2 separate regions of the Homo sapiens genome follow, and region 2 is linked to region 1. Evidence: promoter capture Hi-C in 16 types of primary human blood cells and fetal thymus (Javierre and others, 2016). All regions are on one chromosome and are shown on one strand. Each heading gives the region's core, a stretch centred on a gene start or on the middle of the fragment in contact. The rest is flanking DNA. Distances are from core to core; before and after follow the strand shown. Region 1 holds the start of CDC16 (cell division cycle 16). Region 2 overlaps RASA3 (RAS p21 protein activator 3).

Evidence for each region. Contacts are between HindIII fragments. The CHiCAGO score rates a contact against its expected background, and 5 or more counts as called.
Region 2: a contact is called between a fragment that was not itself captured here and the fragment with the promoter of CDC16 in region 1, in 7 of 17 cell types (naive CD4 T cells, naive CD8 T cells, non-activated CD4 T cells and 4 more). The highest score is 9.3, in naive CD4 T cells.

The regions. Positions count from the first base shown.
Region 1 is chr13:114,232,687-114,238,240 of GRCh38, reverse strand. CDC16 (cell division cycle 16) reads right to left here and starts at 3,344. Exons shown (of 18, transcript NM_001078645.3): 1 at 3,109-3,344; 2 at 1,542-1,596; 3 at 1,345-1,442. The coding sequence starts at 3,156. RefSeq lists a silencer at 3,026-3,385 and an enhancer at 3,496-3,545. The HindIII fragment of the contact is 7,021 bases long and covers 2,080-5,554 here.
Region 2 is chr13:114,031,092-114,036,645 of GRCh38, reverse strand. All of the region lies in intron 4 of RASA3 (RAS p21 protein activator 3), which reads left to right. Among named protein-coding and RNA genes, the nearest start is that of C13orf46, 60 kb to the right of the region's middle. RefSeq lists enhancers at 1-456, 387-955, 4,514-5,455. The HindIII fragment of the contact is 3,496 bases long and covers 826-4,321 here.

The DNA of each region.
Region 1 (5,554 bases), core at 2,095-4,594:
GTCCGAGGAGATCGCAGCAGCTCCACTTCAGGCCCTCAGTGTGAATAACTGCTGGGCGTCCGAGGAGCTCACAGCAGCTCCACTTCAGGCACTGAGTGTGAATAACTGCTGGGCGTCCAAGGAGATCGCAGCAGCTCCACTTCAGGCCCTGAGTGTGAATAACTGCTGGGTGTCCAAGGAGCTCACAGCAGCACCACGTGACTGGAGCACGTGCTCCAGGTATTGATGGTGGTGGATTAGACGCAGAGTGGAGAGAAAACAAGGAGGGCCTCACAGACCTACTGATGCATCTGACTTTATCCTGCAGCTAATGGGAAGTCACTGAATGACTTTGTGGGAATATAACCACATCCGTGTTTTAAAGACTACTCACTCCTGTAATAGTTCACAAGATGAACTTGTGACAGGGAAGATAAGAAGAGAGAAACTGTTACTGGGGAAAAGAGACAAGAAGAGAGGCTGTAACAGAACAGACAAAAAAATCAAAGGCCTGACACGTACGAGTGGGGAGGAAGAGGAATATCCATGATTCCAGAGCTGTTTAGAAAACAGTCTTCAGAATTTAGAGACTAGATGGGAGATGGGGGAAAAAGAAGGTGACAGATTAGGTATAAGACATTTTCCCTTCACTTTCACTAAAAAAAAACTGGGCCTACTGTGATGACTCACATCTATAATCCCAGCACTTTGGGAGACCAAGGCGGGAGGACTGCTTGAGACCAGGAGTTCAAGACTAGCCTGGGCAACATAGTGAGGCTCTGTCTCTACCAAAAAAATTTAAAAATTAGCTGGGTGTGGTGGCATGCACCTGTAGTCCCAGCTATTAGGGAGGCTGAGGCAGAAGGATCACTTGAACTCAGGAGTCTGAGGTTATAGTGAGCCACGATCATCCCACTGCACTCCTGGGTGACACAGAGAGACCTCAAAAAAACAAAAACAAAGAAAAATTGCATCAAGTTAAATAATTTCAACAGAAATGGAATATACACCTAAAACCCTAATGACTTTTTTTTTTTTTGAGACAGAGTCTTGCTCTGTTGTCCAGGCTGGAGTGCAATGCACGAACTCAGCTCACTGCAACCTCCACCTCCCAGGTTCAAGTAATTCTCTGCCTCAGCCTCCCGAGTAGCTGGGATTACAGGCGCCTGCCACCACGTCCGGCTAATTTTTGTATTTTTAGCGGAGATGGGGTTTCACCATCTTGGTCTTGAGCTCCTGACCTCATGATCCACCTGCCTTGGCTTTCCAAAGCGCTGGGATTACAGGTGTAAGCCACCGCGCCCGGCCACTAATGACATTTTTTTTAAAGCTCTGAAGAGCTTTAAAGTTCATACCATCACTTACTTTGTCCAGTTTTCGTGACCGAAGTGCATGGGCGGCTCTGTGATATTGTGCTGTCAGGTAAAGACACTGAGCCAACCAATAGATGTCCTGGGGTTCTTCTGGAGGGAAAAATTCACATAAGTGGTCAGAGGTACAAGGTGAAATAGAAAACGAATTTTAAGATTAATCAGAAAACCAGTTAGCATTTTGTCACTTACCACGAGAGAGTGAAGCTACTTTATCTGCCCAAAATAGAGCACTTTGATACTGTTGCTGCATACCAAAAAAAAAAAAAGGTGGTAACTGCCCTGTTATTTTAATAGTCTTAAACAGTTATCTAATATTATTATAATTCTATGTAATATATTAATATAATTCTATGTAATAAATCTTCATCTCAAGACAACAATTTGTTACATCTCTATCTTACATCTCACGTAGGGTAAATTTTAGTTCAGTGTCGCAATACAAACATTCCTGTAATATCTTTGTATATGCAACTTATGAAGGTAATTTTTTAAAACTCATACACTGTAAAAATGTATCGTGAAACATACAAGTGAAATGCAAGTGAAACAGCAAAAGCTAGTCATTAACAATTCATGTGTGATTTATATAACACTTTCAACGAGCTGTTAATGAATCCCAAAGTGAAATTTAGAAGACAGAACACTATACTCAAATACCTTATATAACACAGTGGCAGTTTTAATAACACTCAAGTTTAAAAACACACACACATAAATTAACTAAGCTTCACTGAACATGGGGAAGAACTCACCTCCTCCAAGTCTAACAAAAATGAAGGAGCCGACAATGAGGGCCACCCACAGTGACCTACGGCTAGCTTTAGACCCTGTTCTGCTCCTCAGTCCTCAGTCTTCTACAGTCTCTGCCTCAGTTCCCCTGGAGACAAGCCAGGACCACTGCTGCTAGCCCGAGGCAGGAGGAATGCCAACGGGATAGTTATAAATATGCTCAATACCGGTGTCTCTGGCTGGAAACCGGGCCTGTCATATTCCTCACTACGTCTCCGTACCGAAGAAAAAGTGATCAGAAAACACTGAATTCAACTGACTCATGGTAAATAAAAACACAGCCCTCCAAATGGACTGCAAACATTTGGCCACGTCAGTTAGCACCCAATTCCGAAAACTCTGCATTACCATGGCTTTTCTTTCCCTTTCTTTCCAATTTCCTGAAAGAGCAAGCATTTCAACAAAAAATAAACAACAATATAGATAAAACTGATGCTGCTGATTCTCGAAGACACTTCTTGCCTTAAACGCTCTCTGCTATTCAAAGGTAGTGCAGAGAACACAGACATAGTTAACGAGAATTTTTAAAGTATTGATTTGAGACAACAGGCTTCTTCACATCTTTATTCACTTAAATTCAGCCCAGTAAAAATTACAACTAAACCTCTCAAAAATGTTTTATTAGCTAGCCCTGCAACTTTCCTCCAAAAATTGTCCTTCAACTTGCACTGAGTAGTCAGTGTTTCCTGGGCACCTCCTCCGCGCCAGGTGCAGAACGAGGCTCAGACCCGACTGAGGCGCCCCGTGCGCTCGGGGGCCTCCACTCCCCGGGCTGTGCCCCTCCCAGCTGCAGGGACCGCTCCCTTCTGGGCGAGGCGGAGACAGCGCTGCTGGCCCCAGATGAAGGCCCAGGGCCGGCCCAGTCCTTCCCCACCAAGAGCCCCGACAACAGTCACCCCAGCCCCACGCCGCGCGGAAAAAGACCCGGCGAGGCCTGGGCCCCGCACCCCGAGTCGGGGCCGCCCACCTGGTCGAGGTACTGCCGGACGCGCTTCCGCAGCCGCTCTAGGTTCATGGCGGCGCGGGCCCGGCCTCACGCCACACTCCGCCGCTAGGCGCGCGCCTCCTGCACCCTAAGCACCCCGCCCCGTGCCCGTGCCCGTGCCTGCAGCCGCCGCCGCCGCCCCAGGACTCGAAGGCCGCGGACTCGAAGGCCGCAGGTCCCCACCCACACCCGCACCCCCCACCCAGGCCCCGTGCACTGCCCAGGCTCTTCCGCTCCAGGCAGGCCCCGCCCCGGAAGTCCACAGCAAACGAATCCCATCTGGCGCGGGAAAACGGACCCGAGTTGTTGGTTCCGATGCCTCTCCTGGCACGTGGGCTTCTGGTTGCCTTGGGGCGAGAGCGCGGCCTCCCTGGAATCGCTGCGGCGCCTCTGGGCATTGGCGAGAGAGTCAGGAGGGCTCGGGGCCGGACCACCCACCCGGGCAAAAAAGCAGGTGGCTGCTGAGCCTTCTTTCCCCAGAATGTAGTCAACATTTTAAAAATAAGAGCAACGCACTCTCATTACAAAAAAAAAAAATTGTGTGCACAAACAGCAAATGAAGTCAAAGACAACCTAGGGAAAAATTTGAAACCTATCACAAAATTCGAATTTCCTTATAATGTAGAGCCAATATTCCCTTTACATATATGTAATAAGTCAGTGGGAAGAGACCAATGGCTCAGGAGAAAGACAGGCAAAAAACAGTTCACAGGGAAAGAAATGCAAATAGACTTTAACATACGAAAGAAAGTCCAACTTAATTCATAATAAAAATTAAAATTAGAGTACCACTTTTCATATGTTAACAAAGATCACAAAGGTTGATGACACTGCTAGCAGGAATGTCGGGAAGCAGGCACCCTCAAGTTTTGTGAGTGGTATTGGTATACTCTCTAGGATGAACGAATTGGAATATCTTCCAAATTTAAAGGTGTTCGTGCTGTTAAACCTAATGATTTTTATTTTGGGAAATATACCATGGATTTGCATTTTTGCATGTGTGCAAAATGACCTGTGGTTTCGTTTGTAATAGCAAAAGATTGCAGACAATTTAAACACCCATGAAGTATGGAACTGAGTAAATAGGTCATGATACGCTCACGTAATGGAATACTCGCTGGCTGTTCAAAAGAACAGTCAGCTTTGCATGGACATTGAACGATCTTCAAGATATAGTATGTGGGAAAAAGCAAGTATAGGATCGTGTTTATCGTATGCCTGCATTTGAGTAAAATACGAATTTAATGATAGGTAGAAAAATCCCTAAACTGTCCCAGGAAGGAAAAATGAGAAAACCGGCATAGCGCAAGGCCTCTGGAAGGAGTGCTGGAAGATGAGAGATGGTAGAAGTGGGAGAGGTACTTCCTTGGATATCTTTTTGTGCTTTTGAATTTCAGTCAATGTGCATATATTACCTTTTGTGAAATTAAATCATTCAAACTTAAAATAATTTAAACTTGAAGCTGTTGGAACTTTGAATTACCTGAGCCTTGAGGGGAATGTGGCTACGCGGCCTAGGTCATGCCACACCCAGCTGTAACTTCTGCCTTTTTCCCTGTAAACAATAAAGACCAAATGGCACCGGAGATAAGACCCCCTCAGATCACTACCCCTCCTCATGGAGTTATAACGCAATCTTCCTTCAAATACAGAGATCCCTAACCAATGGAACCGCTGCGGCGTGTGCCCCTGGTCTCATATGAGAACTGTGGTGATCCTGCTGGAGCTTCTGTCTCCGCCTGGTAAGAGAGACCTGAGCTCCACTTGGAAAGGCTGACCCCATTTGTCCAGGTGGCCATTCTCAGGCTCTGTGCTCAAATACACACTATATGTAATCATATTTCTGAATCTCAATATTAAGGTTGACACTTTTAAAAAGTAAATATAACTTTTATAAATATAAAAACCTAAAAGAGTAAAAAAAATTCAAAGAAGCAAAAAAAAAAAAACTTGCTGTAAAGAATCCCACCCACTCAAAAATTCTCTCACGCTACTGTAAGTAATCTGCCGTGTAATTTTCTATGTGTGTGTATACATATATGACTGGGTAATATTTTGAAGTTGTGTTTAAAAATTTGTCCCCCTGTATATTTCCTTTTCCTCCTCCTTTCCCACTTCTGCAAGCAGGCAGTAATCAACTCTGCTCATTAACTTGGGGCAGGCATGTGGTGAGGTGTGTTTTAAGCCATATTTTCAACGACTTCTATCCATTTAATGAGATTCCTAGTTAACCAAAAATGAGTGACTGAGGCAAATGTCTCCATCAGTAGAAGTCTGATGATGGGCCCGGGAAAAACGCAAGCCACAGAAGCATCAACTGTGCCATCCAAATAGGGTTATGGGGACTGGGTGTTTAGGAGGAGACGGCAAGCAGGAGGAAAAAAAGGGAGGGGTCCACAGTGATGCTCTGATTAGTGCTCAGTAAACC
Region 2 (5,554 bases), core at 1,324-3,823, 200 kb after region 1:
GAATCGCTTGAACCCGGGAGGCGGAGGTTGCTGTGAGCTGAGATCGCGCCATTGCACTCCAGCCTGGGCAACAAGAGTGAAACTCCATCTCAAAAAAAGAAGAAGAAGAAGAAAAAAAACCCCACAACTCCAGTCTCAGGAGCCGCCGTTTCATCATAAGATGTCACAGTGACCATTTTCAGGAAGGCAGGGGGTAGCCATGTGGCTCCATGAGTCCCTCCGCTCTGTGATTCCCAGGAACAGTCCTGTGTCCGGACAGCGAGTGTCACAGAAGCAGCCCATGGGGGAGGCCAGCAAGTGAGTCACAGAAATGGGGGAAACACAATTAAACCTTTCTTGCTTCCTTCTGGAACGGCCACTGTTGGAAAGTCTTTGTTAAATCACTTTATTATGCAGAGTTGTGCTCTCTGACCCTCCCCTGATGCAGGGCCAGCGGGGGAGACGCCAGCGTCAGATGCCAGTGGGGGAGATGCCAGCGTCAGATGCCAGCGAGGGCACCGCCTGTGACAGCGAGGCATCCGCGGTGATCTGGGCGCCTGGGGGTCACTGAGCTCCGTTTATAAACCAGGCTTTCAAGTGCATCTGTGACGTATTCAGAAAATAGCACAGCCCTGCAGGGGATCACAGCAAACCCCTGGGTCTGCCATCCGCCCAAGAGACACCTACGTGTTTCCCCCTTGGAGCCTTCCAGTTGCACCGTGAAATCTCACTGGGCTGGAAATTCCAGCCTCCTGCTACAGCCTCTGGGAATTTTGTGTTTGTGCAGCAGACAGTCCTCTTGGAAGGATTTTCGGAGCAAACAAAGTCACCGTCCGTCGTCAAGCTTTCACATCTCTCCAGGGTTGTAAGAGGAGACGGCCGAGGCTGGGCTTCCTTCCTCATGGCCTCTGCATCCTGTCTCATCTGCCCGCGGACTTCGTCTCCTCTCTGCGGCCGGCGTGGAACAGTCCTGCATCCAAGGCACCTCTGTCCTGGCTGCTCTCTGGGCCGCTGCCCGCTCAGTGGGGGACACGGCAACCGGTGGGTGGGGCCAGGACCCTGACCCGGCTCTGCGCGCTGCTCTCTCCCTGGGGAAGGCCTTCCTGAGAAAGATGGATAGGGACCATTGGCTGCTTTTTAAAAATTAATTAACTCTGTTTTGGGGGCAGTTCTGTGTTCACAGGGAAATTGAGCAGAGTACAGAGTTTCCATACACCCCTCAGCAGCCCCCGCCCAGGGCCCCATGGGTGACACTGCAGCCACACGTTGTCAGGAGCTGGACGCTGGGGCCCCTTTGCTGCGTCTGTGAGTTCGCAGGAGTGCAGCGCCAGGGACCTCAGTGCAGCGTCCAGGCAGGTGCCAGGGTCGGCAGCCAGGTCCTCTCGTTCCTTTCCTGTGGGAATTTGTGCCTTTTCCCTTTTGCTCTTAGTAGCCTGGTTTGAGGTTTATTAATTTTATTGATCTCTCAAGGAATTTGCCGTTGGCTTTGATTTTTACCTATTGGTTTCCGATCTGACTTCTGTTTTCTGTTCTTGGGCTCTGGGTTTAGTTTACTCATTTTTCTCAGTCTCCCAGCTCTAAGCTCAGGTCAGCGTTCAGATCTCCCTTCTGCTCTAAGCTCAGGTCAGCGTTCAGATCTCCCTTCTGCTCTAAGCTCAGGTCAGCGTTCAGCTCTCCCTTCTGCTCTAAGCTCAGGTCAGCGTTCAGATCTCCCTTCTGCTCTAAGCTCAGGTCAGCGTTCAGATCTCCCTTCTGCTCTAAGCTCAGGTCAGCGTTCAGATCTCCCTTCTGCTCTAGTCTGTGTGGCCGGCACTCCAGATTCCCCTCCACCCCGAGCACGGCTCCCGCTTCATCCCACTGATTTTGATGAGTAACACTTTCATTTCTGTTTATTCCGGAACATTTTAAAATTTGTCTTGCGTTCTCTGATCTGTGTGTTATTTAGAACTGTGTTGTTTAACCTCTAAATGTCTGGGATTCTCCAGCCTGCGCCAGCACCTGCAGATTTACTCATTGGCTTTTCTGGCAGGAGAAAGGGCCTTCCAGGGGTGGGTTTTGTTTGTTCCCACTCCTGAATCAGCAGAAGACGAAAGCACACAAGTCAGCTGGTCAGGAGGGATTCATGCTGCAGGAACAGGAGCAGCCTCAGGACCTGATGGTGACCAGCCAGGTGCCCCTGGACCCGGCCAGGAGCCGGGAGAGCACACGGGGGCCGCACAGCCTGCTGCCAGGGGCCGGGAGAGCACACGGGGGCCACACAGCCTGCTGCTGGGGACCAGGACCCCCCACATGCAGTCGTGACTCTTCCTGAAGCTCCCGAATGTGAATAGAGCTACCTCCGTCTGCACAGCCTTGCAAATCTGAACGCTTCTGTCCTGAGAGAGTTTGCGCCCGGCATTTGAGAACGGGGATGAAGCAGTGGGGATTCTTGGTTATTCTTGGGTCAGGCACTTTCTCCTGTCTTTGGTGGTCAGGCCACTCCTTTAGCCCGTGGATAGCCACGGATAGCAGGCCCAGTGCCCGGCTGGTGTTCAGGGCACTCCTTTAGCCCGTGGATAGCCACGGATAGCAGGCCCACTGCCCGGCTGGTGTTCAGGGCACTCCTTTAGCCCATGGATAGCCACGGATAGCAGGCCCGCTGCCAGGCGGTGAGGACCACAGGCGATACTCCGCTCAGCCCTGAGCTCTGATGGGTGTGGGAAGAGGAGCTGTGGTCTTGGTGGGGTCTTTGTTGTCATTTTAGGCACCTGTTTTCCCCGCCCACAGTGCTGGCGTGGGGTTCATGCCCACCTTCCCGGCCCAACATCCTTGTGGCCCCTCAGGACCTGCTCTGGGGCTGCAGCCACAGGGCGGGAAGGCCACACCCAACCTCCAGACCCCAGAGTCTCAGGACAGCAGCGGAGGCCCCACCTCCCACACCTGCCTGGGCAGCACAGACCCAGTTCCATTCCCCCTGTGAGCGCTGGGTCAAGTGTGGGGGTGCCGTGGGGCGTGGTGTCAGTGTGGGGGTGCCGTGGAACGTGGTGTCAAGTGTGGGGGTTCCGTGGGGCGTGGTGTCAAGTGTGGGGGTGCCGTGGAACGTGGTATGAAGTGTGGGGTGCCGTGGAACGTGGTGTCAGTGCGGGGGTGCCGTGGGGCGTGGTGTCAGTGTGGGGGTGCCGTGGGGCGTGGTGTCAGTGTGGGGGTGCCGTGGGGCGTGGTGTCAGTGTGGGGGTGCCGTGGGGCGTGGTGTCAGTGTGGGGGTGCCGTGGAACATGGTATGAAGTGTGGGGGTGCCATGGAACGTGGTGTCAAGTGTAGGGGTGCTGTGGGGTGTGGTGTCAGTGTGGGGGTGCCGTGGAACGTGGTATCAAGTGTGGGGGTGCCGTGGGGCGTGTTGTCAGTGTGGGGGTGCCATGGAACGTGGTGTCAAGTGTGGGGGTGCCGTGGAACGTGGTGTCAAGTGTGGGGGTGCTGTGGGGCGTGGTGTCAGTGTGGGGGTGCCGTGGGGCGTGGTGTCAGTGTGGGGGTGCCGTGGGGTGTGGTGTCAGTGCGGGGGTTCCGTGGAACGTGGTGTCAAGTGTGGGGGTGCTGTGGGGCATGGTATCAAGTGTGGGGGTGCTGTGGGGTGTGGTGTCAGTGTGGGGGTGCCGTGGAACGTGGTATCAAGTGTGGGGGTGCCGTGGAACATGGTATCAAGTGTGGGGGTGCTTTGGGGTGTGGTGTCAGTGTGGGGGTGCCGTGGAACGTGGTGTCAAGTGTGGGGGTGCTGTGGGGCATGGTATCAAGTGTGGGGGTGCTGTGGGGTGTGGTGTCAGTGTGGGGGTGCCGTGGAACGTGGTATCAAGTGTGGGGGTGCCGTGGGGCGTGGTGTCAGTGTGGGGGTGCCGTGGGGCGTGGTGTCAGTGTGGGGGTGCCGTGGGGCGTGGTGTCAGTGTGGGGGTGCCATGGAACGTGGTGTCAAGTGTAGGGGTGCCGTGGGACGTGTTGTCAGTGTGGGGGTGCCGTGGAACGTGGTGCCAAGTGTGGGGGTGCCGTGGGGCATAGTATCAAGTGTGGGGGTGCCGTGGGGCTGCACCGACGCGGTGTCAAGTGAGGGCTGAAGGGCTTTATGTTCCACTCCCTGACCAGGGGCTTCGGGGTGTGCACCCTGGCAGGGCAGGCTGCGCCCACGACCCAGGCACCCCGAGGGTTCACAGGCAAGGGTTTCAGAAGGTGGGGAGGCTGAGGTTGTGGCAAAGTCATAAATCAGTACATGGAGGCCGTATGTCAGTTTGACCTGAGAAGGCAGACATCACGACGTGTGGCCCATGGGTCGGATATAGAGCGTTTTTGATTTGTGATTGGTTAAGGAGGAGAAGCTTTGTCCAAACAATTGAGATCAGCAGAAAAGAATGTTGGCTCTGGCCCACAGGCATGACCCCTCCTGGCCCCTGAGGAAGAAATTCAGAATAGAGCCGGGTTCAGGGTTCGGGCCTGTGATCCCCCCTGCATTTGTGGTCTGTGTTGGTAGATCTGTTTGGTGAGGGTCTCGGTTTTTGAAAAACAATTTAGGGACATATGTTAAGATGCTATTTTTAACTTGTATAGGGAATAAATATCTCCTGACTAATTTTTTGGCTATTATTTTATTATTTATTTTGCTTGTTAGGTGATTTACCACTCAAGGCTGGCTAGGTGTCTGATATATTTTTGAAGGAACTCGAAGGTTTTTTAATCATTTAGGTGGGTGGGGCCTAAGCGAGGTCCCTGCTCCATCCGAGGTTCTGCACCAGGCCACGTGCTGCAGGGCTGCTGTCGGTTCTGCCGTCCACGTCTTAGCGCCAGGCATTCTGCCCGTCTGTCCCACCCTCCCACAGGCAGGGACAAGCCCTGGGGAACACGCCTTGGCCTTCCCGGAGCCTCAGGAGCTAGAGCTAAGGGCCGGGCCAGGCAGAGCCCCTGAAGCATGGATGAGTCTGTGTTTATCCCATCCATTCATTGCCATTCAGGCTGGAGCAAATACAGGGACAGCGGCACACACAGGTAGGCACACATAGCCGCACACACACACAGGTGGACACAGTCACACATACACACAGGCGGTGCACACACAGGCAGACATGCACACACAGTCGCATGTACAGACAGGCGGACAAACACACATACACAGGTGGACACACAGCCACGCGCACAGACAGGCAGACACAGTCGCGCACACACACAGAAGGACATGCACACAGCCACACACTACAGACAGGTAGACACACACAGAGTTGCATGCACATACAGGCAGATGCACACACAGCTGCTTGCACACAGACAGACATGCACACATAGTCGCACACACACACAGAAGGACACACACAGCCAAACACACAGACAGGCAGATGCACATACAGACAGGCAGACACCGACAGGCAGACACACACAGTTTCATGCAAACACAGGCAGACACACAGCCGTGTGCACACAGACGGACACGCACACACAATCGCACGCCCACACAGACACATAGCCACATGCACAGACAGGCAGACACACACAGCTGCATGCACACACAGGCGAACATGCACACAGGTGGACACATACAAGCAGATACACACAATCACATGCA